Linked DNA regions of Homo sapiens: regions 2 and 3 are each linked to region 1. The links are contacts of gene promoters, found by promoter capture Hi-C in blood cells and fetal thymus (Javierre and others, 2016). All regions are on one chromosome and are shown on one strand. The core of a region is centred on a gene start or on the middle of the fragment in contact, and the rest is flanking DNA. Distances in the headings are between cores, read along the strand shown. Region 1 holds the start of ZNF804B (zinc finger protein 804B). Region 2 has its middle 430 kb from the start of STEAP1. Region 3 has its middle 23 kb from the start of SRI.

Region 1 (2,621 bases), core at 43-2,542:
GTTGGTCTTTAAGTTTGGATACTTAGTCACTAGTAGTCCAAAACTAATATATATATATATTTATTATATATATATTTATTATATATATATTTATTATATATATATATAAATTACACACACATACACATTCACACACATTTTCTTGAAACATATTTGGAGCCTTAAAACATAATAGCATGTACCAAGAAATGAATTAATAATGTATTTAACTCATATAATCTGGATGAAATTATTTTATAAAAAGAATGTGAATAAACTGAATAGTAACTAAATTGAATAGTTTACTAAGTTAAAAAGCAATCACGTTAATTGCATGTTAATATATTTGTATATTATACAATAAATTATCCAACTCAGATTTCCATAAAGAATTCTCTTACTTCCCCTTAAAGAATGTGCATAGTTGAGCATTAGATATAATCAAGTTTTCACTACCTATAACTTTCCTTTTGCCAATGATTTGAGGGAAAATCTTTGAGTTTTTCTCACAAAGTAACAGTAGCATTATTAAACTAATCTCAACTGATGACTTTACAAAAGCACATTATAACGTGCCACTCAAACTTTCTACACTGCTCAAATCAGCAGATTCGTAAGTTGACATAGCACAGAGGAGCTACCTTCTGAGCCCTGCAGTTGACTGCATTCAGTAAGTATTTACATCCGTAGCACTATAGATCCTACTGACTGAATTGAAAATACACATGTAAATACACACCCCTCTCTGTGTCACAGTCTGTCAATAAATTGTATAAACGGACACGATGTATCTCCATACCTATGGATAAGGTATACGTTTTAGATGTCCACCACCTACTCATTGTATCAGGATACTATCTCTCAATATCTTTTTGTTTGTGTTGAGTTGGAACGTTTGTGTATGTATGTGTGTGCGCGCGCACATTACCGGAGAGGGAGATCCGTTCTTGCACAGGGGTCCCCTGAAGACTCCTTTAATGCCCCGGTAGTGCCCATTGCTGAGATGTCTCGAACTGATGACCAGGTAACAAGCCATGTGGGTCCGGGCGGAGGCGCAGAGTCTCAACTCCTCACCAGGCGACCAGCCGTGGAAAGCGGGCGGGTTTCTCAGCGGCAACAGCGACTACCACCTCCCGAGAAGACGCGGCCAGCAGGACGCAGGGGGAGGCGGTGGCAGCGCGTCCCTGCTCCGCGCCCCGTGCGGGGCTCCTGCTGCCGACAGCTGCTGCTCTGACAGAGGCGGCGGCGGCGACAGCACAGAGCACGGAGGGGACCCGGCGAGCCAGTCCACATGCTGCTCTGACGAGGTGGCTGCTCAACCGCGGGCCAGCGATATATTTATTTAAGGACAACTTCCAGGGTCCACCAGGGAATCAGGAATTCCCCCGCCCCTTTCCTCCCGCCCCCTGCCTTCGCGCCTGGCGCCTGCCCGGGGGATGCTCAGGCGCGGGTACCCATCGTCCGGCCGGGGGCGTCCTGGGCTGCTGGCTGCAGTGTGAAGATCCAGCAGCAGCCGCCGCCACCGCCGCTGCTTTGTGGGGAGAGTGGCGGGGAGTCCTTGGGAGCGCCAAAGCGCTGCCCCCGCTGCAGTCGGGAGAGGGCGGAGGAGGAGACGGGCGGGCCGGGGTGAGGACAGGGAGTTGGGGACGCGGCGACCTGTGCTTGAGGAGGGCAGTTAGCGCCTCTGCTGGGAGCTGTGGGCTCGGGGCTGCCCAGGAGGCTCAGGTGTGCTGTGGGGCGAGGCCAGGAGGTGACAGCTGCCGCTGCAGCCGCGGGGGGCTCTCGGGGCTGCAGGACCCGCCTCTCCCACCTCCCGGCCTCAGCCGCCCAGCCCCCCGGTTCTTCTGCCCTATCTCTGAGCCAACTTTCTACTGTTTGGGAGTCACCTGGGAGGACTGGGGAGGCTGTGGTGGAGGAGATGGGCAGGAGGAGGGCGTTTTCTTTACTCTTTCGTTGCCTGCTGGCCTTCAGCTTTTCTTCAGCGCTCTGGCTGACGGCGGCGTTGGCAGAAGCAACAGCTCCCCAGCCGGTTGCAAGAATGAGCTGTGCAGCCACAAATAGGGCAGACAGATTAGATGCGCCGTGGTAGGGAACGCACGGACGAGGAAAGTTTTGGGCAGAAAACTTATATAAGGTATAGAAACGAGACATGCATACGTATATGTGCATATACATGCACGTACCCAGAGTTATGAAGATTCACTTACAAGCCTTTCTGTATCTTAGCGAGGCACATATTTTTGGTCTCTATAAGACCTCTGTGCTTTCAAAACCCCCAATAATCACCCCTCTCAGAAGTGGTTTTTAACGGACCTTATTTCGTTTACCGTAATTTAAGCCACCAGGGAGCGAGCTGCACTGAGAATAAAAAGACCTGGGCAGAAATGTGCTCTGAAAGGAGAAGATAGCCCTCCCAGGGTTTGGAGACACCCTGCACTCTCCTCCACCCCGCGGTTGCTTAATGCGGTTCTGCAATCCATCTCTGCCTCACCTCGCCTTGTCTGTGCCTGGGAGAAGGTAAAGGTTCACCTCCTCTCAGTCTGTTGCTTCAGCGCTGGAATTGAAAGGCTACCGCCAATGCGCTAATTCTCCCCAGTATTGTCCTCTCCTGTCTCCCACAATGCCCCATTCGCATCCCGGTT
Region 2 (2,621 bases), core at 57-2,556, 970 kb before region 1:
GCAGTGGACTGGATAGTGCCTGCCCACATTGGGGAGGACAATTCTCTTTATTTAGTCTGCCAATTCAATGCTAATCTCCCAGAAACATCCTCACAGACACACCCAGAATTAATGTTTAACCAGATATCTGGGCATCCCATGATTCAAACAGTACACATAAAATTTGCTAGCACAGCATTTATGTCATATTGTGTGTGTGATATATGTATATATATGTGTGTATATATGTATACATATGTACACACACATTCTATATATATACACACACATCCTCTATATATACACATATATACATACATTCTCTCTCTCTATATATACACACACACATTCTCTCTCTATATATATATACATATATACACACACATCCTCTCTCTATATATACACATATATACACACATTCTCTCTCTCTATATATACACATATATACACACACATTCTCTCTCTATGTATATATGCATATATACACACACATCCTCTATATATACACATATATACACACACATTCTCTCTCTATATATACACATATATACACATTCTCTCTCTCTATGTATATATATATATATATATATATATATATAAAACCTTCAACTTGTTTTTTAGAAGGCTTGACCATATGTCCCTAGCACTGTGTGTGTGTCTACTTTGTCATAGTTTCATTTATTTTGTGTTTTATAATTTTAGAAAATGTCTGTTAAATGTGTAGGCAAAAATGATATACCTGAGTTTATATATGTTACTTCCTTTTGCTTTTAGCAAGTTTGTACTTTTACTTTTGGTATTATTGGTAAGTAGTGTTTTCTCTTTCGTGTTTTTGTGTTTCTCTATTTTGTTCTAACATTTTCTTCTTAACCAATATAACTCTAGAGTACTTTAACTCTGTCAGCTGAGAAGCTTAATTGTATTCAATTTAACCATTATTTAGAAAGGTGACATGCTATGAGTTTAGCTGGTCCAACAAGGAACAAGGTATCATCCTTTAACGCCCATGACATGACACAGTGAAGGAGGTAACAATTATGGTTCCCCCTACTGAGCACCTTTATGTAGGTTTTGTCAGATGCTGTGGTCAGTGTTTCATGTCATGTAATTCTCACAACAAATCTGGGAAATTGGTAGTTTATCCCCATTTCAAGATGTGAAACTGAAGCTCAATGAAATAGAGTAACATTGTATTTCTTAGGTAACACCTATGAAACATTGTATTTCAAGGTAACACCATTACTAAGTGTTAGGTCTGTGATTTAAACTCAAATATGTTTCCTCCCACAGTCTGCACACTCTCTCCTATGCCAGAATATCACCTTTGAGATAAATGTGTAGATGACAAACAAGACAGAGTAACACAAATGTCACTAAGAAAGATGTTAGAAATGAAATGACCTGGAAAATTGACTGATGACATTAAAATGTACATTTTTCAATTTACTTGAATTAAGTTGCATGTTTAATGTAAAACAGCAAATGTATTAACCACTTCCTTTGTTTAATATGTGAGTGCTAAATTTGTAATTATGTGGCTTAAATTTCTGGCTAAAATAGACTATTTTAATCTTATCTAAAATATTGAAGTATGACTTAAAGGTCTACAAAAATATTCTCTCATTCTATTGTTTGGAAAAATTTAGACTGTATAATATTTACTTTCATTGATGTTTACATGATATTTTAATAGATGATATGAAAACTCTTGTTTCTAAGACATATTGACAATCAAAAGCTTAGCTTCAGAATTCCCAGTGGGATTTACTGAATTGCTCACATTATGTTTCTGGGTATAAATCAATTTAGAGAATGTATCACTTCCTATGCTTATACTGGCAGCATGGAATTGTTTGAATATCTCTGGCCTGGGTATTATTAACACTATAACAAACAAATTAATAATTAAAGAATCACATGGTATAATCTCTGTATTTTAAGACATGGAATCACATACTTGAACAGAAGGTATTATCTAGGGAAAAGAAAAAGTGAGGAAAAGAAAACATTTAAAAACGATCTCATGCCACCAAAGGAAAAAATATCTCCAGTATTATAGACTATTTTTGTTAGTTGCTCTAGATATATTTGTGTTGATAAAGAAACATAATAGCATTTGTGTTTTATTTACTGTGGGAGAGACAGAAGGGAGACTAACAGGATAGCTGTACTGAAAATCTCCCCATATATTTAGTCCCCTCACTATACTCCTATGTGTATATGTAGGAGTGGGAAGTACCTCTGGGCAGAAACTCACAGAATTAAAAAGATAATGACTGCCTTCCTCATATACTTTAGGTATCTCTCTTTTTACAGGCTGAATAAATAAATTTTTATCATGATCCACAAAGATAAGAAAAACAAATTCTGTAAGTCATCTGTTGGCTACAACTTAGAGAAGAGCATTTCTTTGTACTGATCTTGTATTTTGTTGTGTTTCTGAAAAGTGATGCAGTAGTACTTGTATTCTGATAAACTTTTAACTACCCTTTTTTAATCTCTCCCTTTTCTTTTGGTGCCCGAATTCCATCATTTCTCTTTTAAAATTAATTTTTAATTGACAAATAAAATTGTATTTATTATGTACAACACATTTCTTGATTTTAATTTGCTTATGAAGTTGACTTTATTCCTATCAAATG
Region 3 (2,621 bases), core at 85-2,584, 520 kb after region 1:
CTTTTTTGAATTTTAAAGAGAATCAACATTTTTACTCTCCTTCTAAATAATACAAGGATTCCAACCACCATCCCCTTCTACTTACATGGGGTATTGTTGCTTGACATATTTCTGCTGCCTATTTACTTACTATCTCTCAGCTCCAATCCTACTCTGTTCTACTCTGCTCTGTGCTGGGACTCTGCGGAATATCTTTCCCAGACTCCCTTGCCCACTAACTGCCTATTGTGTTTTGTTACTAGGGTTACATAATGGGAGTGAAAGGTGAGAAAAGAGGAAAACAACATTGCTTCCAATTGTTCCAGTTCTGGTCAGTGTTGCCCATCAGTAGCTTCATTGGTCCAGCCTTCAGCTTTTTTCAAAACTCCTCTAGCCTTAGCAATTTCCCTCAGAGCAACTAGCATCCTCCAGTGGCACCCACTGTGAAATGTCCTTGTTGAAGCTTACTGTAAATGCGAAAACAAATGAGTGAAAAATGCAAGAAAGGTTTCAAACCAAATACAATGTTATAATGACACCTTGTGGATATGGGCAGTATACCACTGACCAAGCTTCAGTGAAATGCAACATTAGCTGTAAAATCACCAAACATAAAATACTACACATTTTGAAACTAAAAACTAAAAATAAAAAAAAGCTACTTAATGTAGAAAAAAATGAATAACAAATAAACATAGAGTAATAGAAACTACAAGTTGGTGATCTCTTTTCCATATTCCTGTGAGACACAGCACTAGATCACTCCTTAAAGACTCGTTTTCTTCCATTCAATTTACTGCCATTTTAATTTTCCCGAGTTTAAGGCCTCCTTTTTCTTTTCTTATAAATCAGTGTTTTTCATCCTTTTCTGAGAATTAAATTTTTTAATGTTCATTATATATATTTTTTTCTAGTAGTGTCTTGCAGAAGTCTACATTAAAAATTTCAATTTGTCAAAAAAAAAAAAAAAAAAACCCTGAGGTTTTAGCAACCTATCTTTGTAAATTAACTGTTTTTGTGTGAGGTAATGAAATTAGCCCTGATATAATCACAGTGTATTCATGACTTTTTCTAATTTTTCTAAATTTTGCCTTTTGCTAATAACTTGTTTTTTAATAACAACCTATTACTTTTTATGATGTTTGTGTCAGTTACCACTTAAGCAGAATCTAATCGCTTTCGTATTCTATAATTAAATTAATGTGGACATTTAGTACACTATATAATATTATTAGAAAACAAGAGATTTGGTTTGAGAAGACCTAAATTCAAATCTAACTTGGCTATTTATTAGTGAAACCAGGGGCAAGTTACTTTGACTTAAATTAACCTGATTATAATCATCTGTAAAACAAAGATTATAAACATGAATAACAAATTTTAAAATATCCAGCAGTAAAATGTATATAAAACATTTATATACTGTAAAGCATTACACAGATACAAGTAGTTAAAATAGCATGTATGCATTACATTCAATATTTTATTCATAAGAGTCTACTTTAGAATTTTATGTGAAATTTAAAGTAGCTCATTCCATGCATCTGGCAAACAAAATCATCCCATAATTTCTGAGGATCTGTTTTTTACAAGATACTGTAAGAGACATAGAGGCAAATGTTACCAGTGACTGCCCGAAAGTTTTATAATTTTATTGAGGATTCATGTATACTTGATAAGTTGTTGCAAAAAGAGATTTAATTCATCAAGACGTGATAAGAGCTGTAGTCTTGGGTGACATCACAGAAGAAGTATTCAGCTGGGTATGGAATAGAACACAGATGAGGAAGGACATTTAATGATGAAAATACAGCATGAACAAAGGAATTATTTGGTTTTTCCTTTTCTTAGCACTGTTATAGTATTTCCTGTTAATACAACTCACTTTGTCTCCTAACTATAACTTGTATTGATAGTATTATTATATGTGTATTACATGTGTAGATGTCATGTTTCTCTGTATAAACTATATGTTTACAAAGTATACAGATGTCTAATATAAGTCACTTATTTTACCAGGTGCTGGAGATTTACCATATATGGGTGATTAACCCATTAACAGTGTATGAAAAAGCTGCACCAGAGCATGTACAAAGTACTTCAGGGTCGCAGAGAAGAGGTGATTAATTCTAAGCTTCAGAACAGCGCAAACTAATTTTTGCATTTTGTTCATATCACCCCAGAGCACCAAGCTTTACATTAGCTTTATAATAGGTACTCAAAACGTTAATAAACAGATGAACTAATGAACAAACAAAAAATGCAGACAAGAACAGGCTGACAATCCCATGGGAATTACCCAGACTTGTTGGAAGGAAAAAAGTGGGAAAGTAAATTGGTGCCCAATTTTTGGAGATATGGAATCTTGGATGAAAAAGATTAGACTTGGGCCAGGCACAGTGGCTCATGCCTGTAATCCCAGCATTTGGGAGGGCAGATCACTTGAGGCTAGGAGTTCAAGGCCAGCCTGGACAACATGGCGAAATCCCGTCCCTACTAAAAATACAAAAAAAAAAAAAAAAAAAAATGAGCCAGACATGGTGGCGCGCGCCTGTAATCCCAGCTACCCAGGAAGCTGAAGCATGAGAATTGCTTGAAACCAGGAGGCAGAGGTTGCCGTGAGCCGAGATCACACCGCTGCA

What was found. Contacts are between HindIII fragments. The CHiCAGO score rates a contact against its expected background, and 5 or more counts as called.
Region 2: a contact is called between a fragment that was not itself captured here and the fragment with the promoter of ZNF804B in region 1, in 1 of 17 cell types (naive CD4 T cells). The highest score is 5.1, in naive CD4 T cells.
Region 3: a contact is called between a fragment that was not itself captured here and the fragment with the promoter of ZNF804B in region 1, in 1 of 17 cell types (megakaryocytes). The highest score is 5.3, in megakaryocytes.

Annotation. Positions count from the first base shown.
Region 1 is chr7:88,758,371-88,760,991 of GRCh38, reverse strand. It overlaps ZNF804B (zinc finger protein 804B), which reads right to left and starts at 1,292. Exons shown (of 4, transcript NM_181646.5): 1 at 908-1,292. The coding sequence starts at 1,015. RefSeq lists an enhancer at 602-1,146. The HindIII fragment of the contact is 11,667 bases long and covers 1-2,621 here.
Region 2 is chr7:89,724,297-89,726,917 of GRCh38, reverse strand. No RefSeq gene overlaps it. Among named protein-coding and RNA genes, the nearest start is that of STEAP1, 430 kb to the left of the region's middle. The HindIII fragment of the contact is 826 bases long and covers 894-1,719 here.
Region 3 is chr7:88,241,342-88,243,962 of GRCh38, reverse strand. No RefSeq gene overlaps it. Among named protein-coding and RNA genes, the nearest start is that of SRI, 23 kb to the right of the region's middle. The HindIII fragment of the contact is 1,562 bases long and covers 554-2,115 here.